7 separate regions of the Homo sapiens genome follow, and regions 2, 3, 4, 5, 6 and 7 are each linked to region 1. The links are contacts of gene promoters, found by promoter capture Hi-C in human tissues and cell types (Jung and others, 2019). All regions are on one chromosome and are shown on one strand. The core of a region is centred on a gene start or on the middle of the fragment in contact, and the rest is flanking DNA. Distances in the headings are between cores, read along the strand shown.

Region 1 (4,357 bases), core at 1,367-3,866:
GAGAAGCAGCTTAATGCAGATAGCTTTCTAGCAAGCAAGACCTTTGCAAAGCAAAACAAACAAAAAACAAAGAAATTTTGTTTAGAAAAAAGAAATACTTGTGGATACCTCAAAATGACTTTATGAAGAGCCTGCTTATATGTTGGGTGCTCGGTGAGTATTTCACACAGATTACTGTCTTTCTCCTTTCAAGCAGACAGCTGACATACCCCTGCCAGGCTGGTGTGTCTAAGCTCCAGGTGAAGAGACTGTAGCTCAGAAAAGTTAAAGAACTTTCCCCAGATTAAAACTCAAAATTATATCCTCAATTTAGATCCATTTCACTTTAAACAAAGGATGCACTCTAAATTATAATTTGGTTTATTTACCTGCTTATTAGCAATTATTTTGTAATTAATCACAATTATCACTAAAATATACATCTTTTAACAATGCATTGGTGCAGCCTGTAAACAGCAAAACTGAATTCAACTCCCCCCTACATATATACAAAATTATGTAATTTATCCAGTTAAATGTTATGTTATCAGACCTATTGGGTCATGGTTTAGAAAGCTATCTTCTTCCCACTGCTTAGCTCTATATGCCAAGAGTTTTTTTGCTTTTTTTTTTTCTTTTCAAGTATTAACGGCAATGTTCAGAGGCAAGAAGAGGATTAGCTGAATACATTGGGTTCTAATTTCTGTCTCCCTCACCCTGGCCACGTAGGCTCCACAGGTCCAGGCAAAGGCTGCAGATCCAAGCATAAGGCAGCTTCCTCCCTACATCTTTCCCCCTAGAAGCAGCCAGGCAAGACCTTGGCCTGCCTCTTCCTCCCAGGGAGGCTCCTAGGCCTCTGTGCCACGTAGGCAAGATAATCGGAATGTCTGGAATGGAACTAGTGCTCTAAGTGCCAAGCAAGGGAAGGGAGAACGGTTAAGCTTTTCCTTCAGGTCCCCAGGAGCCTGCAGCTGCCACACAGCAGGCCGGGAGCCCCCGCCACAACCCAGGGAGGAATGCTTGCCAAGAAGGCCTGCCCAGCTACTGACACTTCCTCCCAGAGGTCTTAAAGGAAATCCCAGTAAGGCCTGAGTACCCAAGACAGCCAGATCACCCGTGCCAGAGACTGGGCATTTGGGGATGGGCTGGGCTTTCATAGAAACCTTCGGAATTGCTTTCACTTAATTCTTTTATTTTAAAAAAAAGTTCTAGAAAATAAAGACACATCGATAGCAATTTGTATTTCCATTGTCCTCTTAGGTCTGCATGGCTACTGTGCGAGCTATGACACCCTGCAGCCTGCAATAGCTTCTTTGTTTTATGGATGAGCTCAATGGAACCCTTATGGACGCACCGGACCATGCCCAGGACCAGCGAGGCCCATCCATACCCCACCACTGGCTGGAAGGGCGCTGGTGTGAACGTGGGTCCTTGCGGGGGTCCCTACCTCACTGCGGTCAGGAGGGGGCAATTCACACATTTCCTCATGCAGGGGACCTTCAAGCCTCCCTCTGAGGCGCAGACTGAGTAAAAAGGGCCCAGAGATACTGTCCCGCACCCCCATCCAGTGGGAAAGGGCCACTCAAGGCCAGTCAGGACTCCCAACCCAAGTTTTATGCCTTATACTCCTATAACTTTACCATTTGCTCTTTTCGCGAGGCTGACCCCCTCCCTCTCCCCCCCCACCGCCTCCTCCAGAAACTGAAGAACTGCAACAAAGTGTCCAATTATACACGTCTTCAAAGGTACTTTACTTGCTTCCCAATTATCAACTTTTCACCTGAGTACTTAGTAAGGCCCAAGGATCCTGCAAAAGTGCAACAAGGAATAATTGACACAGAATTGGACGAATGACTTTGACCATACGGGACTTCTCTCTTAACGCTCAGCGTGGCTACCTGGGGACGCCTTCTCTGGCCTCCCTGATTCGTCAGATTTGTTCATTTCCTTGACTTAATCCCGCTGAAATCGACCCGAACTAGCCGGGAGTCTCACCCCCAAAGTGCTCCTCCAAGAACCCGCAACGACTGACTCTCTCGTCTTCTTTAAGGAGTTTCTCCCTCAGAACGGATGAGGATGTCACACAGAAAGAACAAAATCACAAAGTTCGAGTTCCGGAGGACCAGACGGCCCCTGCCCCCCATCCCCCGGGCCAGATTTAGCCGAGGGAACCGCACGTACCTGAAGCCGAGGCCGGCAGAGAGGGAGCGCCACGTCTCAGGTCTCGGCCGGCGCCCCCCTCCGGGGTGCAGCCACGTCTGAACCGGGACAGCGGGCGGGGGAGCCGCAGAGGGACCCAGTGAGACGGGGGAGGGAGCCCCCAAAAGTCAGCGCTCGGCCGCACTCGCACTGGGGAGGCTGGAATGGAACTCCTGGGGTGCAGCGGGGCTCCCAGGAGCGAAGGTGGGGGTCCTGTACCGGGAAGGGGCGGGGCCCGGGGAGGGGCTCGGGGAGGTCAGGCGCGGGTGGGGCGCTCGAGTTTCACCCCGGCGGGGAGGAGGAGGAGGAGGAGGCGGCGCGGCGGCGGGGGCGGGGCAGGGGCGGGGCGGGGCGGGGGTGGGCCCAGGCTGTCCCCCGCTCCCCGCCCAGCGCTCTCCGCCCCGCGCTCTCCGCGCCCGCTCGCCCCGCGCCGATCTACTTGCCGGGAAGGCGGCGCCGGTGGCGGCTGCTCTCCCTGAGCCCGCTCCCGAGCGCTGCTTTCCCGCCGCGGGTGGGCTTCGCAGCCTCAGGCCAGCCGCGGCCCTTGGCCCGCTGCAGCCCCGGCCCTCCACCTTCCCCGTGCAGGGGCGGCCCGGCCAGTGTCGCTCATCCCGGGACGCTCCCTTCTCCCACCCAGGACTGCCCCGCGGAGCTGGCTTGGACACCCAACTTTGCCACCTCGAGGGTCGTCTCTGCTGGGCGCGAACCTGCCCACCCACCGGTTGGCCGCGCGCTCGGGGACCGTGCTCGTGGCCCCCAAGCCGGTGCCCCCATTCTGGAACTCAGCGAGTAGGGGGCGGCTCTGGGGAAGTGGCAGGGGGCGGCTGCAGCTGCTGCCTCCACTTCCCTAGCCAGGTGCTGAAGAGGATCCTCGGAGCCGCTCTGGCCCCCAGGCGCTGGATGACTGGCACCAGCGCTCCTCGCACCTGGTGAGCGACCCCCGCCCGATTCCTGCGTGGCCTTGGCAGGAGCCCCTGACCGCGCCGCGCCGCGCCGCGCCGCTGGCCGGGACCCGGGGACTGCAGCGGTCGGCTGGTGGGTGGTGCCGATCTCGGGTGGGATCCATCAGCAGGCACCTGGGCGGGGGTTGCGCGTACAGGATTAGGACGACCGTCAGTCCGGGGGCGCCCACAGTTGAGCTAGTGCACGGGCTGGAAGTTTGTGTACCCGCCTGTGCCGAGGTCTGAGCATGGAGAGGTAAGGAGCCGGAGTGTCGCGGTGGGCGAGACGGGACCCCTGCCCAACACCCGGAAAGGTGCGCACACTGGTCTGTGCCCGCCCCCGGCGCGCCTCCAGGCTCGCACTGCCGCGAGCCGGGGGCAGGGGACACGGAGGTCGGGACTTGGCGGTTCGGGAGCGGCCACCTCGCAGCCCCACCGGCTTGGGCAGGTTTTCCTGCTTTCCTTACAGGGGAACCGGGAGGCAATGGGACTTGGGCTCAACTCCGCCAAGCGCCTTGGTTAATGAAAGACACTAAGGCGGGGGATGCAGAGGCCTGGGGAACCACCAGCCAGGTGCGCTGCAGCTAGGCGAGCCCCTTTCACCAGGCATCCCTCCGCTGCTCCACGGATTTTGCACACCGCGGCTCAGGGTTTCAGACCCCAGGGTTTCGGGCAGATCGGGCTCCAGAGGGAATGGTTTCTCCCAAGATGTGCGTGGGAACGGTCGTGGAGGAGTGATTCCCCCGGCTCGCTCCCCGCGGCGGCCGGTGCCTGGCTTGGAGCGGTCACATCCCTGTTCCCCTGGCTTTGGCGGGAAGCGCGTTCACCTCCTCGCCCTTTGCTTGCTTTGTACCAGGATGCCGCGGCCGGAGTTGGGATTTAACTTTCCTGCGCCTGCGGCGTCCTCGGGATTCCCGGCAGGGGGCGCTGCGAGCGAGCGCTCGGAGGACGAGGCGCCACAGGCAGTTGCTGGGTCCTGGGCGAGTGGGCGGGAGTCCCAGGCAACAAACAGCAGAACCAGGCAGATCTTGCAATAATTTCATTTTGGGGGCCGGGGGTTGGGGGAGCTGATCTGGTGGCTATAGAGAGCTGTCAGCCTTGCTAGGAGAGGGGACAGGAAAGGTGGTGGCCAGACATAAATGCTCTAACTAGAAAGGTCTCTTCCAGAGAAAAAGATCGCTGTAAAGTCTTCCTTGTCTGGGCATCTGCCTTCCTTGTGACTGTTACATTTACTCAGA
Region 2 (4,357 bases), core at 982-3,481, 490 kb after region 1:
TGCACTCTGCTGTCATGTTTGTACTTAGATACGATTGATTTAGAAATGTTTTCTGAAACAGTGAATAAAGGGAACTGAAAAAGTGTAGGGAGGAATCTGTAAAACTGGATCTGTCACCAAGAGGAAGACTCCAAATGCAGCCCTGCGAGGGGTCAGAAGCCTTGTTGCTACGTGTGCCTATGCACTGAAGCCTTTCTGGAGTGCAGATTCCATTTTGTTTCCCTTACTAAACAGAATCCACTTAGCTTCCATTTAGTAACTCCTTTCACTTGGTTGGGATTGGATTATAGAAGAGCTGTGACATTGTGTTTCTTCACAGTGGATGGCGTGTGGTCTTGCTGGTCCCCCTGGACAAAATGTTCAGCAACATGCGGCGGTGGACACTATATGAGGACCCGCTCTTGCTCCAATCCAGCCCCGGCCTATGGAGGGGACATCTGCCTGGGGCTGCACACAGAAGAGGCACTCTGCAACACGCAGCCCTGCCCAGGTAAGCGGCACCTCACCTACTGCACAGCTTTCAGACAAATTGGCCTCTTTCCTTAATGGATAAATGGTGTAATTGATGATACTGCATCATGGTAAGTACTGAAAGGGGGGTGGGCAAGTTAGCAACATGCTATTACCCTTGAAGTGACTTTAAAACATAGCATCTATAATAAAATAGTTCTCACTGAGCTATAGATTCAGAACTCGTGTTCAAAGCCTTTAGCCCAGCAATGGGAGAGTGCTAAAGGCTTCAAGCACGAGTTCTGAATCTATGGCATGTTACAACACCCAATCTCCCTAATTAGGAAACATCCCAATTTATTCTTGACTTTGCTAATTAACACTAGTGACCCACAGGTGACACCTTGCTGTGTTGAGGGAGAAAGTCCAAGGAAAGGTGGGAAAGAACGAACATTTTTAGTGCCCCCCATGGAGTCTGGAGGTCTGAGTGGGGAAATCGCCTGCAGCCTTTTTGTCTCAAAACCAGCCTGGGTGCAGCCACATGTCTTCCAAAGATCTCCAGACCTGTGTTCCAGGAATGACTTCTAAAATGTGACAAGGGGACACTAAGCACTCTTGCAGGATGCTTCATCCATGGTCGATGGGCTGTAATTTAGAGGTAGTGCAATTAAAGGAAAGAAAAAGCATGACATCAAATCAGTAAGTGGAGGAGCACAGCAAACAACAGAAACTGGTGATAGCAAAGCATTCTTAAAGCCAGTAGCCTAATAACAGAGTCTGAGGTTTTGTTGTTGAAAATCAGGGTGGAGAGCAGGGAGCACCGCTGTGAAGTGCACCTCATAGGAGCCAGCCTTGGGCCCGTGGGTGTGGGAGCTCCTCGCTTCAAGCTCCCTGTGGCTGATGCAGGCGCTTGGGGCCTCCACCACCACCACCATCCCAGAAATAGCTTGGTTTACTGACATGAAGGAATGACCTGGAATGAAAATGAGCTATTCTTTTCTTGGTCTAACTTTGACATTGAAACACACAATTTTTTTTAGCTTGCTCCTGCACATCTTTCTAGAAGGTTCTATGTATATTGAAAAGGGCCTTAAAGCCAGATTCTCACTGTCATTCCAAAAACTGGCACTTTCTGCATTTCTAAGGAAACATTTTACCCTTTAACTGGAGCAAAGCACAAGTTTGATTTTCAAATTTTCCCTGCCACTACAAAGTGGATGCTTCTATTTAAAAAGGGGAAAAAAGCAAACTGCATAGAAAAATACCTTTTTATCCTGATTAAAATTCCATAAACAATATCCAGAGTTTTTTTTTTTTAACCTTCTTACTTATATAGGAGTCTTACTCCTTTCTTTTCACACATCTGTATGCCTGGGTGAATTTCACACATCCTAGTAAATCTTCCACTTCGGGATGAAGTATCCTTTCAATGCCCCTCTTTTGGCCTTGACCCAAGACTTGTGCATTGACCTTATCTCTTCAGAGACAGCAAACACGAGATAAGATGAATTCTACATCAAGGGTCACCTGACTTTGGCATGTTGACTCTGCGGAATTGTTTTTATAACAGAAAAGAAAGTAATTGTGTAGCTTCAGACTCCCTTTCAGCAACCCAGGACTCTCATGAGCACACAATTATTTCTCTCGCCTGAGCACAGAGGAAGGTGGAGAATTTTCAGGAATGTTTCAGGAAAGCATTTGAGTTTCTTTGAGGGGAGCATTACCCATAGCAAAATGGCATCTGCATTGATGACTTATGTACCGCTGCTGCTGATGGTCTGCACACAGCTGGGTCTCATGGATTCACTTATTGAGTGTCTAAATACAATTACTTTATAACGTTAAAATAATGTTTATTTTAAGCTCATGATATCTGATCAAATATATAACAGCGCAGGCACTTTTATTCATCCTCGTGTGTACTGTATGTACTGGATCTGTTAGATGATACAACTACATCTTACTGATGCACAGAACCATTAAAAATATGCTATGGAATCCTGGAATCCAGAAATCACATATGTAACTTGCCAGTGAGTCTAGGATGATTGAGCTTACTGGCCATTCCGCCCCATCTCCCCTTTTCTGGTCTCTGCAGAGAGCTGGTCGGAGTGGTCGGACTGGTCTGAGTGTGAAGCCTCTGGCGTCCAAGTCCGCGCCCGCCAGTGCATCCTCCTGTTCCCCATGGGCAGCCAGTGCTCCGGGAACACCACGGAGAGCCGGCCGTGTGTGTTTGACTCTAATTTCATCCCAGGTAAGAGCAGAGGTATTTATCAGTAAGAATAAAATCATTTCCAACATGGAGAGAGAAAATGATTCATAGGTCAGAGTTTTATTTGGCTTATTTGGTGAAATAGAGATGATTCCATCAAGCCCCATGGTTTCAAGGTGTTTAAAACGTAGGTCTATAGATAACTGCAGATTTAAACATGAATTCAGTTCATGAATTTAAGATTTCTTAGGAAAAGTGTCTTTTGCAGTTTATCAACTATAATGCAATCAGAAGACTTTGCTCAAAAAAATGAAAATATTTGGTTATTATTAAATATGTTTTGGTTATTTGGTTATTTTAATATTAGGTTAAATGTTTAGGCAGTGCTCGCTGTGTATGCACTGGCACACAGAGAAAAAGCACCATTCTCTTTATGCTATCTTTAATATACTTGAGAAGGTAGAAATGCATCATTATTCTCCTGTTGGAGAAGAGGTTGGCCCTCATTCAACCAGCTTCTCATGGTAAAGTCAGTGTGTAGTTGTTGGTGATAGCTGATCACTTGTTGCATGCTCACTGTGAGAAGGTGCTATATGAATGCATAGATCATTGCGCATATGTCCACTGTGTGCCTTAGGACTGTTAGGTGGACCAGCCTCTTACAAATAAATAGTAGAGTTGAATTCTATAAGCCAGTTTTCTTTGTTTTCTTTCGTCTGTGCAAAAGATACTATTTTAGAGAAAATTAGCATACCATACCTCAGTCATGTACGGCACAGAACTATAAGAGTGGTTGTTATTGTTTTCCTTTTTAACGATAGACATATTTTTAATTCTTGTTGTCTAACAAAAAATCAGTACAGGAAAGAATGGTGTTTCTAGACTACCGAGTGATATTTTATCCTCAGGAGTTAAAACATGTATGAGATGTGGCCTCTCTCTGCATCCTACTGTGGGTTTCATGTGTGGCATGCCAAGAGCATCAGTGGCCTCCTGAAGAGGGACTTCACTTGTTCTGGAGATGTCCTTGAGCTCTGGTGAATGGGCCCTCCCTCTGCCGGGAAGGTGACAACACTGGCTTTGATGGAACAAGTCTCAGAAGCAGGAATACCACAGGAGTACTCTGTGTGTTGGGCAGAGTGGGGGGATCCCCCCGGCAAGACACCTTGTAATGGAAAATGAGCACATTCCCTGCTTTCAGCCTGAGAGACCATAGCATTATCTTTCTGTGATAAATGAATCTTATCTCTCCCCAGTCAAGGTGATTTGGCCAAATCCATATCAGGTTGGTTAAAACAAGCAAAGAAACAAGTAGAATTTTTCTGATAATTAATCAAGCTTTTGAAACTTTGTGTCACATAACATTCAGAATCATTAGACAAACATACATGAAGCATGAATGTGGACTGTCTTCTGAACACCTTTTACACATTGTGATTCGACTTTTCTTTTTCCAGAAGTATCTGTGGCAAGATCCAGTAGCGTAGAAGAGAAAAGGTGTGGAGGTACGTTATTCCTTTTAAGTAGTTGTAATGGATGTACTGATATATTCTAATCATTTCCCTTCCTGCATGTTTTCTATAATTTTTCTGCCTCTTGGCCAAGAATGAAAAACCGGAGAAAGTCATGGATCCCAGGCATTCTACCTTGGCATAAAGGCTTAATAGTCAATATTTGATGTACCGATCGGTGGTT
Region 3 (4,357 bases), core at 1,326-3,825, 480 kb after region 1:
GATGGGTGATTTTTGCACATCACTGGTGTGTTCATTTTGTGCAACTTTCTCCTTTCCAATAATTTCAGCCACTTTGGCATTCTCCAGCTCCCAAACCTGTCTTCTCAGTCTCTAGCCTGTGCCTGGGTTTCTGCTCCCCATGCTGTGGCCTGGGAACCTTCTCAAGGCTGTAGGTTGTGGCACTCATGGGTCTCCCATAAGTTGTCTCCCATTACTCAGTGATCACTGACCTTCATTGCCTGAAGTCCAGTACTTTAAGAACCATTATTTAATATAACTTTTTGTTATTTGGATAAAAGGGTTAATCCAGTTTCTCTTACTCCATATTGGTGGGAAACAGAAGACACTCTGTGACCATATAATTTTGAATGCACCACATTCCTTTATATACCTTCCTTACTGGGTACAACTAAACTAATTTCCAGAACTTCCAGTCAATCTTTGTTCTGTTTGCCACAAGCTCCTGGGAGCATGGTTCTACTTCCATGTAGATACTTGAGTGTTTTGGCTCTTTGCAAGCACAATTCAATTACTTTGTTATTTCTCTAATGTGAATTGCTTTCAGTCTCAGCAGGCCAAGCTTAGTTACTGAAAGAGAACTTGATAAATGCATATGGAAACCATAAGTATTCCATATGAGAATAAATTTGATTTACATATTCAGTTGTGGATGAGATGACTTGAAGGGTAATTTTTGGGCTTCACTCTGAGCATGTGGTATCAAAATTCTGCTTGGGTTGTCTCTGTCTCTCTACTTTACTTGCAATGTATGAAATATGAGATATTTTAATTTTCTCAAGGGAAAAATAAACAGCAAAACAGGAGGTCCCACTTAACTATCTAAATCTGTTCCCCAAATGTATGCAAATTTCATCTCAGTAGACTTATCTGTTACTTAATCAATATGATTTATCCATTTACCAAATAGTGTTACTATGCCCAAGATTGGTAATATAAAATAAACGTGACAAAGTTCTTGCTTTTGACAAATTTGCAGTCTATTAGTGGATGCAGAATTATAAATAGGCACTTAAGCTTTAAGGAACTACATGCTTTGATTCTCTAAATCAGGCCTATGGTGATGGGGGCCTGAATTAGAAGAGGCAATTAAGATGGAGAGGACAGAAGGAACACAGGAAGCCATGACTGTAGTACTTGGCATAGAAGTAAGGGAGAACTGGCAGAGTGTCTCCCGGGTTGCAGGATTAAACATTTAAATGAGTGCTTTTATCACTGTTGACTGGAATACATAATACGTGGGGAACATATTTGGAGGAATTATTTATAATTGCTTTAGTAAGCATTCTTATCTCATATTTTGCACCAGAATATTAAGAACCTTAGGTGCCAAATCATAATAGTTAGCTTCCTGAAATCCTTTTTAAAATCATTTATCTCTTTAGTATTAAGTGCAGTTTTGTTAAAGTTCCATTTACATTTGGATAGTTACAGCAGCAGTTCTCTAGTAAATTGTAACATACATATTCAGTTAAGCCATATAAGTGATCACAATAGAATTAAATCACTTCATGATTTTGCTCATTAAGATAAAACAAATTGGCCATACCATTTCTCACCATTTCATAATTTGATACTTCAAGTGAATGTATCATAATTAAACCTCAAAAAGCACTTGAAAGGAGAAATTCTGAGTCTCATGTTAAATTTTGAACCATGAGAAAATAAGAACATAAGAACAGACTGTTGTTGGAGGCTTAGATCTGAAGAGACTAAACTGATCTTTCTTAGCCGTGAGCTGTGCCCACCTCTGGGACCAACACACAGATGCCAATGCAGACACTTGAGCCAGCTTTCAAACACATTTGCCCCTCATACATTTCAAAAATTAAACTTCATCTCCATAGAAAGAATGAAGTTTGCAGTGTGGGAAACCTAAGAATTATTGGTGGTATCCTATAAATCTGTTTATGAAGATGTAGGATTTTACTAATTTATAGGTAATGCTGCATTTGTTAAGACCTAAAGACCAGCACTTTTCAAACAGAGGCCCATAAACTGCACATGATTTTTGTTTGTTTGTTTTTTTGAGATGGAGTCTCACTCTGCTGCCCAGGCTGGAGTGCAGTGGCACAATGTCGGCTCACTGCAACCTCCGCCTCCCAGATTCAAGCAATTCTCATGCCTCAGCCTCCCGAGTAGCTGGGACTACAGGCACCTGCCACCATGCCCCGCTAATTTTTGTATTTTTAGTAGAGACAGGGTTTCACCATGTTGGCCAGGCTGGTCTCGAACTCCTGACCTCAGGTGATCCGCCCACCTTGGCTTCCCAAAGTGCTGGGATTACAGATGTGAGCCACCACGCATGGCCGAGCTGCATGTGTTTTGAGCCCATTTCAGCAAGGAACTCCAGGATTCTTATCTGGCCAGGCTGGCTCGGAGTGAGGGAGGGAAGGGCAGTGGCATATGACATTCTCAATCCAGAGGTGAGAGCATCCCCACACTAGAGGCACAGAGGGTCCAAGACAAGGGTTTATGGCTTTCCTGTCATGTGGTTTTCATTCCAAGTGAAAGAGATCACACACGCGTTGTGCCTGGCTTTTCACATGACTGGGTTTATGGCATTCATTGGGGCTTTTTCATTTAAGAGGCAGCATTCAAAAGATGCCATAATAAAAGATGCTATAAACACAAGAAAATGAAGTCATCTATCTTTCTAGTATTTGTTGATGTAGAGATCATGCAGGCCGGGAGGAATGCCTAGAGAGTATTAAATCAAAGAAACAGCGATGATCGCCTTACATATTTTCTGTTAAAAGCCTATGATGTCACAAAAATCCTGAGTGTTATCCGCTGTAAAAAAAATAAAAAATAAATGCATTGTGAGTAAAGAAAGCTAGTTAGAGTATTTAAAACAGTACAAAATAAAGATTGTATTAGGTTCCCAGGTAAAGTTGGTGGCATGGACACACAAGTTGCTTTCTATCCCACTGGAAACATACTAATACAGTGTTAGAGGGGTTGATTTTTCAAGGCATGAATGCGCAAAGTCAGAAAAAAAGAGAAAGAACCATGTTGTTTTTAAAAAGTAGAATCTGGAAATACATCGAAGAAGCATGAATTCAAGTCTAACAGAGGAGAACTATGTGGAAGACAATGCTTCCCAGTCCTGTGATTCTTAGAAAGGCCTGCTCGCAAGGCTAGCTGTTGGCTGGCATCTGGGAATCTGGATTTCAGGAAGGTTTCTACCATTCCCAGATGGCAAGAATGGCTCTCTGTGCTTAAATTGTCTGTACAAACAATGTGGTGTATACTGAAAGCTTCCTTGGGGGAATCTGAACTTTTGGTACATGCAAAACAAGGATGCTTCTGCAACCAGACCCCGGTGAAAACCCTGAGCACCAAGTCTCCAGTGAGCTTCCCTGGTAGACCACCTTCCCTGTACGTCATCACAACTAGCTGCTGGGCGACCTGAGCACATCCTTCATGACTCTGCTGAGAGAGGACTCTTGGTTGTGCTGCCTGGCTTTGTCTGCACTTCTACCCCATGTGCATTTTCTCTTTGCTGATTTTGCTTTGTAGTCTTTTACCGTAATACATTTTAGCTGAGAACACTGCTGCACACAGAGTCCTATGGATCCTGCTATCTAATCATAGAAACTGGAGGGATCTTGGGGACCCCCAGCACATACATGAAAATAATCATCTCAATGCACACCAGAGACCCCTCAGAGAGCTTAGGAATCCACAGCCCCATTTTTTTTGTTAGTGGCAAAACAACATTGGGTGACTTCTGTTTAAGAAGTTATCAGACCTCCATACCTCTCTCCCACTCCACCAAGGGGACTAGACCTGCTCTGTCCAGCAGATGATAGGAAGCTTATTTTCTGGAGAGGAAAACAGAGCGTCTCTGGACCTCTGAGCACTGGGCTCAGTTAACTGGGTGCTTCAGAACTGAGAACGGCAGAGTGAGATAAGTGGGTGTCTACTGGACACTGAGAGTTCTGCCCTCTTCCTCCACTCAGCTCCCAGATCCTCCATGGCTCAGCCTCCAGCATCCAGACAGGCAAGACACTGGAGCAGTCTTCTCAGGGGTCTCTGAAGAGTCCAGCAGGAAAGGTTTAAGATTCTGACAAAGATTCTTAAATTCTGTTTAAAGATCTCAACCAGATCTGACCAGGTCTACAGACTTCTCTGTGCTACAGACCTTCCAGTTAAACTTTTTAGCCCTCCACTCTAAATCAGAGCAGAAAACAAAGACTGTTCAGATCACAGAAGAAACAATCTAACAAGAAAGATAGAGATCCAAAAAAGCAAAGGGAATTCAGCAATTAGAAGATACAGAAGCTATAGAGAAAGACTACAACCTTGAAATAATTCATCAAAGTACTCAGAGTAT
Region 4 (4,357 bases), core at 695-3,194, 390 kb after region 1:
ATATGCTTTTTAAAGTAAATTCAGGCTAAAACATGTCTGCTTATGTATTTTTTTAAACACAAATAGCCTCCATCTCTATGGCTTTCATAGAGAGAGAAAAATGTAAAGTATTTTATCCAAGGTCTTTTGCAATGAATTGCTTGATAGGAGGCCTTGAAGTCAAATATTCTTGACTACTTCTGGTTTTAGAATAACTCCTTAAACTCATTTTCTGTGTTTGCAAAATAAGAACCATGATGTTTTGAAACTCGGGATCATGGAAGGTTTTATTCAGTCAGGGCCTTCAGGATGATTCCAGGTACTTGAGTGGATCTCTAAGCGGCTTCCAGAAGGCTGGATTTCATGCCTGGGATTTGCAGGGTGTCAGCAAGGAGTTGCGGGGTGCAGCACAGGGTACCTGGGAGAGCAATGTTCGTTTCAACTGTGTGTCCCCCTAAGCTGGGAAGGCTGCATGGCTCAGGGGCCGCTCACCCTCCAGCAGTGCTAGCAGTCAAGCAGATAAATAAGTGCACAGAAACACCCAGGGAGCAAGAAGCCTGGAGCGGGGAGGGCTTGGATCAGGCCAGAAATTAATACTCAGAAGCACAAGAAAGAAAGTTTGGAGGAGTTGAGCCCAAGAAAATCATCCCAAAGAGCAAGCACTAGGAGGAAAGAAGGAGCTAATGTAGACAGAGGAGAGAGGGAGATGGAGGAGGGTGTACTTCTCGTGGCAGGAAGGAGGAGGGGGCATCACAGTCGTACTGGATATTTGAAGCTGCCAATCACATTGCATTTTCCTTGCCCTGCTGGGCACCAAAATCAGCATCTCTGTCACTAAGAATCCAAGATCGTCCCTTGAGGGTCTTTCTTTCCTGATGTTTTCCATGGGATGGCACAAAGCTTGCTACTTTGAGCTCTCCATCCCGAGACTTGGAACTGGAAGGGTCCAATCGGACATGATTAGTCCTCATCCCTTGCTACATGAGAGCATCATTTTAAAAGATACTGCTGCCTGGGCCCCACATCCAGTGCAGCTGACCTAACTGGTCTGCAGTGGTGTCCAGGTGTACTGTTTTTGAAGGATGCTCAGATGGCTTTCCTGGCTGAAGATCCATGGCTGCATACACAGCACACTCTGTTTAACCAGGGATTGGTTTGTGAGACCCTCTGACCTTGTTTCCTTTTCATCCTGTGACCTTCATAGATTACGGAACCATTAAGAAAGTGCGGGTACCCCTGAATCAGACCTCAAGCAGCTGTTTGCTGGAAGAGATTGAGCTCTTCCCTGAGAGGCGGAGGGAGCCCATCAGGAGCCTGCAGATCCTGCACAGCCAGAGTGTCCTGTTCGTGGGCCTGCGGGAGCACGTGGTCAAGATCCCCCTGAAGAGGTGCCAGTTCTACCGCACACGCAGGTAGGGCATCTCCGGGGTCAGGATGCACTGGTGTGTGTGTGAAGGGCCCACCCAGAGAGAGCCAGGGAGGCTTCAGATGCCCTGAAGTTGAATGGCCTCAGAGCCACCCTTCATGCCTCTGAGAGTCCTGTGCTCTAGGATGCAGAGCTTTCATTAAAATAGATTCACTGTGATGAGAATAACCCACCAGTTCTCCTCAGAGGAGGAGCCACGTTATAATACCTGTAAGAAGTTGTCAGGGTTAAAATAAATTATTCAGTGCCTTAGAACACTCAGTGGTAATACTGATATTTGATGACTGTATTAATATGTTAATCTGGCACAAGCTTATATATATGTATATATATATACACACACACACATACATACATACACACACATACACACACACACATATATATATATATATATATATATATATATATTTTTTTTTTTTTTTTTTGAGACACAGTCTCACTCTGTCACCCAGGCTAGAGTACAATGGTGAGACCTCAGCTCACTGCAACCTCTGGCTGCCAGGTTCAAGTGATTCTCGTGCCTCAGCCTCCCAAGTAGCTGGGAATACAGATGTGTGCCATCATGCCTGGCTAATTTTGGTATTTTTAGTAGAGACAGGGTTTCACCATGTTGGCCAGGCTGGTCTTGAACTCCTGACCTCAAGTGATCTGTCCACCTCTGCCTCCCAAAGTCCTGGGATTACAGGCTTGAGCTACTGCACCTGGCCTCAAGCTTGTATTTTATTTGAATATAGAAATAACAAAAAATATTATAAGGTATACGTCCTTCTCGACCACAGCTCATATGCTGATAACCCCTTGAGAAGAAGGAGTGGTTGATGTTGCTGCAGTGGCACCCACTTTCCGGGACACCCCCCCCTCCCCCGCCACTGTCCTTGGCACCAGCTCCCCTGGAGTGCTGCTTCTCTCCTGAGCCTGCAGAGAGGGTAGGGAGGGAGGTCTCCAGCCACAGGGAAACCCAAGAGTCATTGCATCTTCCTTCACCCTCAGGCCAGTCTTATCTTCCGTGGGACATCCACGATCAACCACAGTTGTGTTTAAAGTTTAATTTGGAAACATGTTGGCCCAGGTACTTAGGAAATGAAAAAGTACTGTATACATCACACACCTGACCAGCACTTTACTCCGGGAGATTGTATATACACTCTGATCCCTGACAAAAGATCGCCCTTGGGGAAATCAGAATCTTAAATGTTCTTAGGCATCTTGTTTAATTCCACTCCTAAAGCAGGGTGTAATTGCAGATTTGGAGTAGAAATAGTCCTTTTTGATATATCACTCACAGACATCTACCCTACACAGGCCACTCTCTCTCTAAACAAGGTGCCAAGTTACACTGGCTTTGGAACTCAGAAGCTAGGGTTCATGGAACAGACCTGTTGTTGCCTTTTTTTTTTTTTTCTGAAATGGAGTCTTGCTCTGTAACCCAGGCTGGAGTGCAGTGGTGTGATCTCGGCTCACTGCAATCTCCACCTCCTGGGTTCAAGCGATTCTCTTTCCTCAGCCTCCTGAGTAGCTGAAATTACATGTGCCAGCATGCCCAGCTAATTTTTGTATTTTTAGTAGAGACAGGGTTTCACCATGTTGGCCAGGCTGGTCCCGAATTCCTGACCTTGAGTGATCCACCTGCCTCTGTCTCCCAAAGTGCTGGGATTACAGGCGTGTGCCACTGCGCCCAGCCCTGTTGTTGCTGTTTCTTGACCCAGGTCGCAAAAGTATTTCAGAATTCACTTTGTCACTCAACACATGTGAATTGCTGTAGACTCAAATAGGATAATATATAGAGTATAAAATTTAAGCACTCTGCAAAGTGAGTATTCTTAGGTGGAAGGAAGGTTTTGATGTGTAATCACAGCAATAAGCCTGTCAAGATGATTCTAGAAAATGAAGTCTTTAATGTCTCCTTTGAAATGAGAGAGAGAGTTGAGGAATAATGCCAGGAACCTCCCAGCTAATCATAATGATATTGTGAACATTAATAACAGCTAGTGGTATTTATTAACTGCCATTCTTATATATGCTTACTTCCTAAATTTAACCACTGGCTGCTTGAAATGTGTTCTGGTTTGTGTTCCCTGCAGAACTAGCCTAGGGAAGGAATTATTCTTCCTCCAGTTGCTGTTGGTTCAGTGGGTAACAGGATTGGGGTCTGGCCAACAGGATGTCATAGCTGGAATATATCTAGAAGGACACCAGTCTTTCAACTCCAGCTCAGTGAAGGATGACCTTTTTGGAGGGTGACACGGGATAACCCACAGGAAGCCGCAGGCCTGTGCTGTCTGCAGGGTGATTCTGGTGCCAGAATGGGAGTGCATGGCTTACAGAGCATGAGGCAATTCATCTTTTACAGGTTGCTCTCCTTCCTTGAGTCTGGGTCATAATCGCTCAGCCTCTTGTACACGCAACTTAGGAACTAAGTTCTGCATCAGATCAGTGATGAGAGGCACAGTGTCCCTGGCATCTCTCATGCACCTGAACTGCCAGCCCACTTGTGGATCCACAGGAGCTGGTGCTCCAGGCACAGAGGCCTGGGGAGGAGTTCACTGTTCCCTCTTTCCTTTCAAGGAGAATGATGACACTGGTGTGTCTTCACTGGGCTCCTGAGAGGGAAGGAGCTTGACATTTATAGCTGGAGCTTAATCATCCTGCTGTTTACTCTGAGAGAAGCAGTAAGAAATCGTAACTTCATTTTCAACTGATAGACTATAGTCTTCTGTGTGCCCTTCCTCAGAGGGGGTTAGTTTTTGCCTGGTCCTTTAGTATTTCATTCGAGAAAAGAAAACTAAAGATTTCAACCCAAGCATTTCTCTGAATATTTCCAATGTGTTTCTCTATTATCCTACTCCTGTAGAAAGATAGGAAACCCTCCCTAGTTAACATTCCATGGAGAAAAGAATCTTTAAAAAAAAATAACTGCACAAACATTTTTTATAAATTATAAGGAAAAAT
Region 5 (4,357 bases), core at 1,023-3,522, 380 kb before region 1:
CTGATTTTTGCCAGATCCTCAGGCACATCTTACCAGCTTTGGATTTCTCCTGGTGGAGCACTATTTGGGTAACACACTCTTAGACTTTCCTGGAAGAAAATGGAACAAAATTCACACCCAGAAAAATTTTTAGGATCCTGGAATTAGATAAAATTAGGCAGGTCTTAGAGGGCATACTTTTCATAACAGTTTATGTAGCTTTGTTTGCTAGCTAACACAAAAATAACAACAACTGTAAGACAGACAAGAAACTCAAAAAGCTCTAATGCGTTATTGAAGCACCGTGACTGTGAGAATTCCTCTGCTTGGAATGGCTTGCTTGCAGCTGTTGAATGGTGGTGTTAAGTTGCCTGTGATTTGCAGTAATGTGCCACCACGTTTCAGTCCATGGGTGCTCAGTAGTGCGAATGAGGTGTTGGATGCACCCAGAGGTGGTGTCGCCTGTTCAGAATGTGAGAGGGAAGTGGGAGGGGGCAGGGCAGAGGAGGAAGCATGGGCTGTTCCGCACAGGTAGAGGAAAGGTGTGTTTTATGCCAGGGAGAAAGGGACATGGGGAAATGTGGTATCTGTTAGCATGAGTGGAAAAGAGCCAAGTGCAGTAAAGAAGTATTTTTCTGATTAAGAAATGATCATCTGCAGTGAACGTTTATGGCTAATAATGATTTAGAGAAGGAAGAGCTTCAGGTCACACAGGACATTGGAAACAGACCTTCTGATATTTCTTTCTAGGGCACCACAGCCTGATTCACTCTCTAGAGCTGCTCTGATCAATATGGCAGCCCCTGGCCATATTGATCCTACAAACTCTGCTTTGACTAAGTTCTAGAAGAAGGGGAGTAGAGGGGGAGAGAAGAGGTTTGCTTCTGAGGGAGGGAAGCAAATGCAGCCTGTGAAACAATGTTCTCTCCACTCTCCCTTGAACTACTCAGCATGTTTCCTGTTTAACCTTGGGAATTATTTACAAAACTGAAAAGTTTCACTTGGCTAACTGAAAGTAGTTGTTGTTTTTTTAAAAAAAGATGTGTGGTGCTTTTATCATTTTAGAAAGATAAAGCTAAATTCTTTCAGCCTTTATTTAGAGATAAACCTCTAAATCCTGGTACACACATATTTTTTAATCTCACCCCAAGGAAATAGCATTCTGATCCTTCATGAGTCATCATTCAAATTCAAGCAAACATCCTGCTGGTTTAGTTCTCTAACCTTAGTGTCCAAAAGGTATTTCTATTTGGCGAATCACCTTGGGAGTTTCCCACCTCTCCTTCGGGCATCACCTTCTCTTCTGGGCGACAGTCGTGCAGATTACACTGTTCCACCAAGAGTGCCTGTTCTATCACTGTGAACACATTAACATACCATGCATGATCATTACAGAAGGCACTATGGGAACCACTTGGTGAAAGGTGCTTTGTAAAAAATAATGCTACATAAATGGAAGATCATTATTACTAGATTAGCTTCTGTCTTTCAGACTAATTATTTCACAGTCTTCCAGAATGCACTGCATTTGCCATCTGCTGGCCCAATTACCTAAATGATTGAGATTCCTTTAAACCTGGTCACACAGCTCCTCATTCTTCTTTGCAACTCCCATTTTAGTGTTGTCAGCAGATTTTAGAGCCCTGTTGTTCAGATCCTTGTCAGAGCCACTTAGCTTTATGATGCGTGGCAGTGCTCCTTGAAGGAGCCAGTGACTCTCCTTGCTAACTCAAAGTTGAAGGCAAGGGAGGCTCACTTTAGTTTCTTAATCTAGTATTTGCTTAGTTTTTGTCATCTACTATTTTGTTCTCTCTCTTAAAGCTTTACATGGAGTCTTTTTGAAAAATCAAATAAAGCTACATAACACCTGCTTTCTTACATTTCTTCATCAACTTCGATGGAGGTGAATAAATTTTGACTTCTTGGCCATATTCTTTAAAAATTAAATTCTGGAAAGTTAGTTAAGGATGATTTCTTTCACATCTGAACCCTTTTTGCTTAAGCCATTTTTTCTACATTGTTTGCTTTACTAGTTTTCAAATACTATTCTTTTTCCAGATTAGGTCTCTAGAAGAAATTTTAATTTGTATTCTAAATTTCCATGGTTTGTTTAATTCTCTGGTAGATATGTATATGCATGTTTAAATCAATCTGAATTAAGCTTGAAATTGGACATTGAGCAGAGAATCGTGGCATGGCCACAGGAATCCCCACTCTTACCACAGGGCATAGGCAGTTGCAAGTGGGCACTAAATGCTTTGGTGTTGAGTTTTCAGGTAACTCAGGTTTATTTTGGACACTGCCATTGCCAGGACCTCTCCTCTTCTTGCAGATATTCTACTCTTTACTCTGCCTTATTTGTTAATACAAAACAGTGATTTCAAATCAAAGTAAATAATATCATTGGTGGCTCCATGCTGTATGCCAGTCATAGGCTTAATAACTATGGATGATACACAGCATTTTTAAAAAGTATCACTGCATGTTCCATTGCCATAGTCAAATAACAATGAAAGCCTTAAATATCAGTTTTTGATATCAAAACACTTCATGGTTAATTGGTGAATTAGTCATGCAAACAGTAATTACTGCAGGAAATCTAAGAAGGGAGAGATCAATTTAAAAATTATTTTTCAAAATGAAATGGATTTTAATTGTTTTTTATGCTTGCAGACATAATATGCACTTATTATAAACAGTATGCAGAGATGCTAAAAAGAATGAACCAGAAGTCATCTGTAATTTCTACATAGAGGTAACCACTATTAACAATTTAGGATATAGCCTTCTAGGCTTTTTTTTTTAGTTGTTGTTGTTCTATAGTAACATATCAGTTAGTCTTTGCTTCATTACAAACCATCTCAAAGCTTAGTGGCTTGAAATGCTAACCATTTAATAAATGATTCTGTCAACAAAAAGACTCAAACTCTGTAAAATGTTTGAAAAGATTTATTCTGAGCCAAATATGAGTGACCATGGCCTGTGACACAGCCCTCAGGAGGTCCTGAGAACAAGTGCCCAAGGTGGTTGGGGTGCAACTTGGTTTTATACATTTTAGGGAGGCATGAGACATCAATCAAATTACATTTGAGAAACACATTGGTTCAGAAAGGCAGGACAACTCAAAGTGGGAGGGGCTTCCAGGCTATAGGTAAATTTAAACATTTTCCTACTGACAATTGGTTGAGTTTGTCTAAAGACCTGGGATCAATAGAAAGAAAACCTTCAGGTTAAAATAAAAGATTGTGGAGACCTGGGTTCTTTTGAAGTCTTACAGTGGCTGCCCTTAGAGACAATAGATGACAAATGTTTCCTGTAAAAGGTGTTAGACTCCTACTTAATCTCCTGAGGATTGGGAGGCCTGGAAGAAAAAGATCTAGCTATGTTAATAGAGATTCTTTACAAATGTACATTTTTACCCAGAAAGGACAGCTTTGCAGGACCATTTTAAAATATGGCAAAGAAACATGTTTTGGGATAAAATATGTTGACTTTCTTCTTTGTCACATAGTGTTATATGCCATATTGGATTTGGAAAGTAAGTCACGATATATAGGGTTAAATAAAACCCATCTGGTGAGAATTTATAGTTTGTAGGGTATGACTCCCCAGACCCCTTAGATAGGAATTTGGGCAAGATAAAAAAAATTCAGCATAGTCTGCAATTATTAAGGTTGCAATTTGGGCTGGGTTCAGCTGGTCAGTTCTGGTCCAGGCCAGTCTCAGGTGACTGCAGCTGTTGAATGGTGGTGTTAAGTTGCCCATGATTTGCAGTAATGTGCCACCATGTTTCAGTCCATGGGTGCTCAGTAGTGAGAATGAGGGGTCAGATGCACCCAGAGGTGGTGTCGCCTGTTCAGAATGTGAGAGGGAAGTGGGAGGGGGCAGCTCCCCTCAACCTCAGCTGAGCTTGGTCCTGTGTGGGCAGTGAGCTGGTGATGGGTCTTGACTAGCATGGGTAGGAGAGCTAAATCCTTTCTTCAGTGGCTTCTCTTGCTGCACGAGGCTGCTTGGTCTGGTTCACAAGGCTGTCTCAGGTTTCAAGAGCAGCAGAAAGGCAACTCCAATACGCAAGCACTTTTCAAGTCATTGCTTAAGTCATGTTTGCTATTGTCTCACTGGTGAAAAGGAAGTTGCATGACTAAGCCTAGAGTCATTGTGAAAGGAACCATAGAAAGGCATGAATACAGGGAGGCATGAACAAACTGGGCACACTACAGAAACTAGATCTACATAGTTCTAATATTTTAGCACAATGAGATCCTACTATACACTGTTCTAGTCAGGGTTCTCCAGAGAAATGGAACCAATAGGAGGTATATGTATGCACAGAAAGATATTTATTATAAGTAATAGGCTCACATGATAATAGAGTTTG
Region 6 (4,357 bases), core at 1,210-3,709, 360 kb after region 1:
CCACATGCACTCCTGGTCCAGACATGTGGCTGCCGCTCTGGGCTTTTTCCACAGCATGGCCATGGTTGTTCTAATTCTATGCTCCCTCCCCCACAATGCCATTCAGTCTTGGGCTTTCTATTCTCCCTTCTAGGATGAGATATATCATTTTTATTTTCACTTTAACTCAATTCTAGTGTTTAGAAAAGCATTTGAACCTTAAATTGTATATAATCTTAAAATGTTCTAAGCTTAGATTGTGGCAATAATTGCACAACTCAGAATATACTAAAAATCAGTGGGTGAATTTTATGGCATGCAAATTATATCTCAATAAATATATTTTTTAAAAGGAATGTGATCTCTTTTTGTGTTATATTTTATAAATTGTTTTAGTTAGAGGATAATTCATAAACATTTATATAAAAACACCTATCAGGCACTAAAGAAATGTAAAGGAAGAAGACATACACACACACATTTTGAATCATTGTTTTTCATTTCAAACTTGCAAAATTTTACATAGAAAAATCAGGGGCAGCTAATAGATGAATATAAAGCAGGAAACATTCATATAGAGGTTTATATGCTTCTAGCTGCTGAACTCATGTGAGATTGTGCCATGTTTATCACCTCTGTTTCCTTCTCTTCCCCTAGCCCCAAGGTTAATTGTATTGTGGAATGAAATATTTATAGAAATCTCAAAAAATAGAGCTGGGCACAGTGGCTCACACCTGTAATCCCAGAACTTCGGGAGGACAAAACAGGAGAATCACTCGAGGCTAGAAGTTTGAGACCAGCATGGACAACATAGTGGAACTGCACATCTACAAACATTTTTAAAATTAGGCAGGTATGGTGGTGAGCACCTGCAGTCCCAGCTACTCTGGAGGCTGAGTTGGGAGGATTGCTTGAGCCTAGGAATTTGAGGCTGCAATGAGCTAGGATTGCACCATTGTACGCCAGCCTGGGAAGCAGAGTAAGATGCTGTCTCAAAAAGGAAAAAAAAATATGAAGGCTCAAGACCTTCAACAAAGAGGGAGCCTGGGCTGAGCTTCCTTCTCTGCATCCCTGTCCTGTCACTTCAGTCTACAGAAAAGCAAATGGAATAGAAGGCATCCCAGCAGGAGCAGGACATGTGCCACAAAGTTACTTTGCTTGGAAAAAAAAGGGAGAGAAATGTAAATAAAGTCAGTACCCAGAGTTGAAATGATGAAAGAAACAAAATGAGATGAAAAGGAAGTTCACAGAGATAAGCGAATAAATAGAAGATCAAAATGACGTGCTATTCTACTACAAGAGTAAAAATTAAATTAGAAACTTCATGGAAACAAAAACACAGCTAAAGCTTAGACACAGAGTAAATGTTTGCAGTGATTAAGGTGGAAAATGTAGAAATAAAAGATAAGGTTTTAAATATGAAGGACCCACAAAGACAATGGACCACACAGAGTGATTGGTGTCTTTGAACCAAAGAACCCTGTCTGTGGAGCTAAAAACTTGTGCCCAAAGACACTATTGGAGAAAATTACCCTGCAATAAAGGAAGAATTGAGTCTGCAAATTTCAAAGCATACTGTATTTGTGCAATATTAATTCAGAATAAAGGAACACTAGCCAGGTAAGTTTTTAAATTCCAAGAATACAGAAATAATTATTTAGGTATTGAGGAGGAAAAAAAAAACTAAAAATGAAAAAAAATCACATGGTCTCAGGATACTCTGCAGCTGTATAAATCTGTGAAACATGGTTATGCAATATTCTGAGAAAAAGAAAATGTGAATTGAGCATGTTATACTCATCCAAGAATAAAAAAAAACAGACACTCACAAAAATGAAAATCTCAAGGAATAGAAAACCAAAAATCTCTTTTACAAACATGAAATAAGACTAATTAGGGGCTAAATTCAGCCAAATGATGAGAGAAGGTTTGAGAAAGTAAAACCAAAATAGGGGAACACTCAATACCAGATTTCAAGTAGAACAATATATACACACATTAGAGGAAAATAAATGTGACTCAAGAATGTTATTCTAGGCTAATCTTTCCATCAAAAATAAAGGTACATGGAAAATTTAGGGATAATGTATCTGTGATTCCTACTTCAAAAACAGACAACCTTGGCTGCTAGCCAAAGAAGAAAATCAGAACAAAAACCTCAGGAAAGACGTTGTGGAAAGAGGGCAAGTGAGGTGTTGGGGACCCATTTTACTATCTGAGGAAGAAGCAATAAGGTGTCACGTGAGCCAAGGCTCTGGGGTGCAATGGAGCATAATGAGCTCAGACAACAGAGAAGGACCGCTCATTGGTCAGGTCGTAAGTTCAACCGCAGGTTCTCTCAGCCTTACTTGACCCTGAACCCTTGGCCATTTGCTCTGCCTCAGCTGCCCCCGTGGCTGACAGATTCCTGGGCAGGACCAGGAGGTTCCTCCAGTTGATGCTGAGCAGCTGGTGGTCAGGCGTCTGTGGCGCTGTTGCTGCACCTGGGCTTGGATGAGATCGCACGCTTCTGGGAGTGGGATATGGCTTCTCAAGCAGGTGCTGGAAGAGCTGGTAGCTGCAGCCCAGAAGTGCAGGAGGATGAACTCTCCATGAAGCAAGCCTCACCCAGAGGGATGTCGGGTATGGGCAGAACGCAACTGGTGAATTCCCCTTCCATTTTCACCTCCAGGCGGCTGTCCAAGGGCAGGCTTCTCATGTAGCCAAGCAGATGTCTCTTTCTGTTTCATCATAAAGGAAGAGCCCCATGGTAACAAATCATATAGCACCACTTCCTGCTCTTTCCTGCTCCCTATTCCTTTCCCTCACCACACAGCCCTGGGATTGCACCCCCAGTAATGCATTAGCACCAAATACTTGAATCCTTCCCTCTGTTTTCTAGGCAACCACAGTAAGAGATCCAACAATGCCTGGAGTTCATTCAACCCTGTAGAGTTTCTAGGCTCCAGATGCAGGCAGGGATAGCTAATATGTGCCTTCTAGCTATGTTTAAAAATTCAGATTTTAATCTAAGCATAATAATAATTACTGAAAGTTCTGTAAAGAAAAGAAGTTACATGATATGATGCATGTTTTCAAAGATTACTATCTATACATCCTGGAGAATTAATCAGAGGATAACAAAAAGGGTAGAAGGAGGGTAAAGTTTGGGGTACAATTTCTTTCTAAACCAACAGTACTGTATTGCTACAGGATCCGCCATTGTATAAAAATAAGCAGGCATTCTAGATGTCATTGCATTGTAACTGAGTAAGGAAGAGTAGGCTGGGGTCAAAGCTATTGAAGTCATCAAGGTGGTCTAGGAGGAGGTGAGCATGGCATGCTCAGCCAGAAGATAGGCAGATGTCACCCTCAATGAAGCAAACATTGGTTCTTAGGGGGACAAAAAATCTTATTTTTATTCAAATAGACATGGACTATACAAGCAAATATACAGTACAGAATATCTGTAGTAAAATTTCATGGGTGAGGGGACAATCAGGAAAAATGTGAGAAGTCTTCTTGTAGAAGTGATAATGGAACACCTATCAGTTTGAGAAATGCTGCTCTTGGTTAATTTCTTGAAGAGAAGCTGACAGATGCAGCAGGTGTTTTGGAGGAGTGAGAGAATGGGTGCAATTAAGAATGACTCCTGATGTTTTTGGTTTGGACAGTTGATACTTCTCGTGGCCTTTGCTGAAAAGAAGACACTGGAGTTTTTGTGCCAAAATTCACTGGAGAGGGTTCAGCAATGGACAAGACAGACAGACACCCTGTCCTCAGGAAGCGTATTTTTTTTTGGGGTGGGGGGCAGAAGCAATAAAACAAGCAGTTGCATTAAATGTTAAATAGGAAAAAACGAAACAGGAAGATGAGATGGGGGAGGCAGGGCTTTCAGTGGTAAGAAGAAACGTGCAATGTGCGGAGAGAAACAGGTCCATTAAAGTTGGAAGTTGTGCTGTCTTTCATGGAAAATTGGGGTGCAGAGAGATTGGGGTGAGTTGAGGAGGAGATAGAGGTCAGGAAATAGATACCCATCTAGACAACTTCTTAATAGATGAGGGACTCTGCGGCTGGGAGTGAGATGGGGCAGGGGGTTGGGGGAGACAGCAGATTGAATCGAGTACCATGCGGGGTTGGCAAGGGTACTTTACCTGTGGGTGTCAGCAGACAGTTTTGCACCTGTCATGGGGAAATGCATCTGTAAATGTTTCTAGTCCCCCCTCTCCATCTCCACATACTCACTGTCGCATCCCTTCCGGACCTCAGAGGAACGTGTTTCTATCAATCCCATCCCCAATCTTCCAAGATGCAGACCTAGAACCTGGGCTGAGAAGCCAAGGGGAAGGAGAGGACTTGGCTGAGGGGCTGAGTTAGGCCTCAAAATAAAGCACCAAAG
Region 7 (4,357 bases), core at 708-3,207, 300 kb after region 1:
CCATGGGATAGTTTTTGCTGTATTCTCCTAATTCAACGTATAAACTCGCTTAGGAAATATAACCCAGTTTGAATTTTCTTTGTATAGTGTAAAGATCTTAACCCACATATAATGTGTCAGGTTATGGAACAATATCCATGTTTATCCGTGCATGTTCTTTGTCTTGACCTCTGTTATTATTTCAAGTGGGTTTGGATAATTACACAAAATTGCAGAATAATAAGACTATTCACAATTAAGTTTACTTTTGTGTTTTCCATGTACTTTCAGAGTTCAGATTACAGGGTGGGAATGGGGGAAGCTTTCGAATCGATGACTTTGTGAAATCAGCACTGAAATCATAACAACTGGGTTGAAATCTCAGTAGTGAAGATGTGGAGTAGTGTTCTCTCTCCAGCCAAACCATTTCATTCCCCGCTTTCCCACCAAGGGCCTTTCAAAAGCACCACATTTTATTTTGTCTGACAAGTTCAAAGCAAACAAACTCAATCTGTCAATAGAACTCTGGTGAGACAGGAAGGAATTAGGAATCTGGGAGATCCTGCCAACTCATTCACTGAAAGAGTCCATCGCACGTGGGTTAAGATTGTGGACCCTGGAGCCAGCCAGGGTGGCCTGACTTCATAATCCCAGGCCATCCATTTAAAAGCTCAGTAATCTTTGGCAAGTTGTTAAGCTCCTTTCTACCTACTGTGTAAGATGAATGTAATACTGGTACCTATACCCTAGATTGTTGGGAGGGTAGAGTTAGTTATGATGGGCAGAAGAGTACCAGCCATCTTCCCCATCAGGAGTTGATTCATTCTTATCTCTTGAGCATGGATGTGCTCCTTTGGACTAACTTTCCCAATATGTCTTGCCGGCAGCTCTTTTAGGCTGTTGTACTGTCACACATTGTCTGATTCCAGGATTCTGTTTTTGCTTTGCTCCTCTATTATAGTTACACTTGGAAACATTGTGTCCACTCCAGATTGATTGATGGCTTTCTGCCGTATACATTTACATATTGGTTCTGGTTAATCTCATAGTGCTGATCTAAATGTTGGTAGTCATGACTCATAGTCATAGTCAAAACTTGAGAAATCAGAGTCATACCTAAAGTATTTTTAGAAAATAGCATTGAATTTTTGCTGTTGATATTGTGAATTATAATTGAGACACAGTACAGCTGAAACTTTAGTGTGAATTCTAAAGTTGGCTGATTAAGGAAGAAATGCCCTCCCTCTTCTAGGTTGGAGACAATTAATATCAGCATTTAATAGCATGGCTCTTTTCAGAATTTTTCTCAGATGTGATGTCTAGCACTTTTTCTGCTGTTAGATTACCATAGGCTGGGTAATTTATATAAAATATTAGGTTATTTGACTCATGGTTCTGGAGGCTGTGAGGTCCAAGAGTTTGGTGCCAGCTTCTGACTAGAGTCATCCTAGTATGGAAGGCATCATATGAAGAAAGCTCATGAGACAGAGGGAGAACACTAGCCCAAATTTATCCTTTTCTCAGAAACCCACTCCAGTTATAACTAACCCACTCCTGAGACAATGGCATTAGTCCCATTTAGTAGGACAGAGCTCTCAAGACCTAGTTGTCCCCTAAAGGTCTTACCTCTTAATACTTACAACAGCAATTAAATTTCAACATAAATTTTGGTGGAGCATTAAAACCATAGCATGTGAAAATCTAAGAAAAATGTAATACTAATAGATATGAAAATCTTAATTTGTTAGTCTATTTTTCTTATGTTTTTCCACTTTTAAATTCCAACTTCTTTAGCTTTGCTAAATGTCTTGGAAGTCAAGAGTTGTAAGTTTTCTCTCATTTTGAAATTTATGTTTGTGTAATTTTTTATATCTTATTTGCTTGACTTAGGACACAGAATTCCAAACAAATAAATCATTATTGTATTACTTTGAAAAAGAAGTTCTTGTACTGAATTACTTTGAATTCCTACAGTTTTAAAGGTAACTTTCATGTGATTCATAAGATTTTCTTTGGTTGGTTTTCCATTTGTTTTAAAAATCCAGAATGTATTACCAATGAACTAAAGTGTGTTTGATTTAAAAGTGTGATGATCAAAACATTGTATGAATTCGGTCTTTTTTCTTGAACTACTTTGCTATTTTGGAAGATTTACTGTCTTATTGTGTTTTCTTTAAACAGGATCGTATAGGTAGTTTTATTTGTCTAAGGTTAAAGTTACTTATGGGGGTGGAAAGAAAGCAGTTCAGAATTGTGTGTGGCATTCAGTCCAAACCCAGCTTAAGGAATGGGTGGGAATTAGTTTCATACTGTAGATTAGGCAGACTTGTGCTACTGCTGTCCACCCACACATCTACATGATCAAAAGACAGTGCCCTTCCCACTACTAAATTGCTGGTTACCCATCCCTTCTTCTATCCCTATTGTCCCTGCTAATTTCAGGTTCCCAATGCCTACCTGCTGGTTGCCTGCAATGACCTCTACATCACTCTCCTTGTATTCACCACTACAGCCACACTGCTTTCCAGGTCTTATACCCACAGAGAAGTCTTTCTCAACTACTTGTCTCTCACCATGCCAATATCTTGCTTAAAATTTTATTCATGGCTTTTCTTCAACTCATGAAAAATAAATCTGAACTAACTTCTTTTAGCATGGTTCAGGAGGCCTGTCCTGAGCTGCATATCAGCGTGTAGCCAGAGACCTCTCCAATCCCCACCCTGGGGTCCAGTTCTCCAGCTTAGATGTCCTTTCTTCCCATTTCAGGCCTTTGCACCAGCTTATTCATTTGCTTTTCTTGAACATCTACTCTTCCACTTATTCACTCACTGGTCAATTGCTTCAAGATCCAGCTCAAGCCTTGACCTCCCTAAGAAATGTTCCTTCATCCATCTCCAGATCCCTACATCTGGGTTGAGTGTTCCCCTTCAAGACGCCCAAGATCACAGCATGTTTTCCTTAAGAGGTCTTTTATATCAACAACTACATCTTTCATATATATTGTAGGGCAGGAAGAAATAATTTTCCCTCTACTCTTCTAAATTCTCAGCTGGGCCCTTGTAACAAAAGACATATTAACAATAGAAAAACAAGTTATAAAAATATGTTTATGTCTTACACACACGGGAGATACCCAGGGAAATGAGTCACTCTCAAAGAGATATCTTAGAATTCAAGCTTAAATACCATCTTCAGCTAGATTAAAGAAAGAAGTGTGTGGGAGAGGTAAGTAATGGCAACGTGACCAGAAATGGCATGGTTAGCCGGAGTAAGGTTTGTTGTGCACATTTAAGTCAGTGGCTTCTCCATTGACTTATCTCCTGACCAGGATCATATTTCTCTTCCTGGTACAGTAGGGGAGACACCCTTACAAATAGAGATTTCCTTTATAGATGTAAGCTTACCTTACACAAACACAATTTCTACTCTGTTTTCAGAGCTTCTCCTGTGTCTAGGCTTTCTCAAAATAATCAGCTCAAAATAATCCCATGACAAAGGCATATTTTGGGATGACATGTTCCAATTTCGTACAATGGGCCTGGCCCAGATGTTTGGTAGATGGACACACAGATACTAACATGTCCACCCCATGCTCCTAAACTCGCTTGAGTGTGACTGTGTTCATGTGTGTAATTCATGTGTATGTATGTATGTATTAGTTTTGTATGGCTGCTGTGACAAATTATCATGAACTTGGTGGGTTAGAGCAACAGAAATTTTTTCTCTCACAGTTCTGGAGGCTAGGAGTCCAAATTAATTCTTATGCGACTAAAATAAAGGGGTCCCCCGGGCCACACTTTCTCCAGAAGTTTGGGGGAAATAATTTGTTCTTTTTCTCTTTTGGCTTCGGGTGGCTGCCGGCCTCCTTGACTTGAGGCTCCTTCATCACTATCTCTGCCTCCACGGTCATATTTCCTTCTCCTCTGTATGCTCCGCATCTTCCTCTGCCTGCTTCATATGAGAATGTTTTCAGTGATGTTGAGATGCTCCCTGAATAATAGATTAATGTCTCCATCTCAAGATCCTTAATTTAATTATCTTCAGTCCTTTTCTTTTTTCTTTTTTTTTTTTGCCGTATGAGTTAACTTCACAGGTTGCAGAGATGATGATGGATATCTTTTAAGGGACCAGTGTTCATCCTACTCCAATGCTCCACCCTCAGATATACACAAAGTTGTGTTTCAAGGCCCTAATTGGTGTAGGCAATTAATTTATTTCAAAATCAAATTCCTTTAGTAGGAAATTGAGTGAAGTTGTAACATTTGGCAATTAGTTGCCAACCCTGGCTAATCACATAACAAAAGGAATGATTTAAATAGATGGAAGGGAAGGAGTGCCTCATGTTCTCTTCATTTTGTTGTAAAATTATAACAAAAGG

The links. The method cuts DNA at HindIII sites, captures the fragments that hold promoters and counts their contacts. A contact is called where the count stands out against the background at its distance.
Region 2: a fragment that was not itself captured here is called in contact with the fragment with the promoter of SEMA5A in region 1 in 1 of the 25 tissues and cell types used here (aorta).
Region 3: a contact is called between a fragment that was not itself captured here and the fragment with the promoter of SEMA5A in region 1, in 1 of the 25 tissues and cell types used here (mesenchymal stem cells).
Region 4: a contact is called between a fragment that was not itself captured here and the fragment with the promoter of SEMA5A in region 1, in 1 of the 25 tissues and cell types used here (mesenchymal stem cells).
Region 5: a fragment that was not itself captured here is called in contact with the fragment with the promoter of SEMA5A in region 1 in 1 of the 25 tissues and cell types used here (dorsolateral prefrontal cortex).
Region 6: a fragment that was not itself captured here is called in contact with the fragment with the promoter of SEMA5A in region 1 in 1 of the 25 tissues and cell types used here (dorsolateral prefrontal cortex).
Region 7: a fragment that was not itself captured here is called in contact with the fragment with the promoter of SEMA5A in region 1 in 1 of the 25 tissues and cell types used here (aorta).

The regions. Positions count from the first base shown.
Region 1 is chr5:9,544,334-9,548,690 of GRCh38, reverse strand. SEMA5A (semaphorin 5A) reads left to right here and starts at 2,616. Exons shown (of 23, transcript NM_003966.3): 1 at 2,616-3,107. It overlaps SNHG18 (small nucleolar RNA host gene 18), which reads right to left and starts at 2,491. Exons shown (of 3, transcript NR_045196.2): 1 at 2,161-2,491. RefSeq lists a silencer at 2,493-2,682. The HindIII fragment of the contact is 8,719 bases long and covers 1-4,357 here.
Region 2 is chr5:9,050,220-9,054,576 of GRCh38, reverse strand. It overlaps SEMA5A (semaphorin 5A), which reads left to right. Exons shown (of 23, transcript NM_003966.3): 19 at 320-490; 20 at 2,549-2,704; 21 at 4,120-4,167. It overlaps MIR4636 (microRNA 4636), which reads left to right and starts at 682; the gene lies at 682-761. The HindIII fragment of the contact is 9,174 bases long and covers 1-4,357 here.
Region 3 is chr5:9,068,061-9,072,417 of GRCh38, reverse strand. The region is part of intron 16 of SEMA5A (semaphorin 5A); the gene reads left to right. Among named protein-coding and RNA genes, the nearest start is that of MIR4636, 16 kb to the right of the region's middle. The HindIII fragment of the contact is 3,533 bases long and covers 809-4,341 here.
Region 4 is chr5:9,151,522-9,155,878 of GRCh38, reverse strand. It overlaps SEMA5A (semaphorin 5A), which reads left to right. Exons shown (of 23, transcript NM_003966.3): 12 at 1,184-1,391. Among named protein-coding and RNA genes, the nearest start is that of MIR4636, 100 kb to the right of the region's middle. The HindIII fragment of the contact is 3,389 bases long and covers 250-3,638 here.
Region 5 is chr5:9,924,520-9,928,876 of GRCh38, reverse strand. No RefSeq gene overlaps it. Among named protein-coding and RNA genes, the nearest start is that of LINC02112, 23 kb to the right of the region's middle. The HindIII fragment of the contact is 4,916 bases long and covers 1-4,357 here.
Region 6 is chr5:9,181,562-9,185,918 of GRCh38, reverse strand. The region is part of intron 11 of SEMA5A (semaphorin 5A); the gene reads left to right. LOC124901170 (a long non-coding RNA gene) reads right to left here. Exons shown (of 2, transcript XR_007059120.1): 1 at 2,463-4,357. Among named protein-coding and RNA genes, the nearest start is that of MIR4636, 130 kb to the right of the region's middle. The HindIII fragment of the contact is 3,359 bases long and covers 780-4,138 here.
Region 7 is chr5:9,248,250-9,252,606 of GRCh38, reverse strand. All of the region lies in intron 5 of SEMA5A (semaphorin 5A), which reads left to right. Among named protein-coding and RNA genes, the nearest start is that of MIR4636, 200 kb to the right of the region's middle. The HindIII fragment of the contact is 4,321 bases long and covers 1-4,117 here.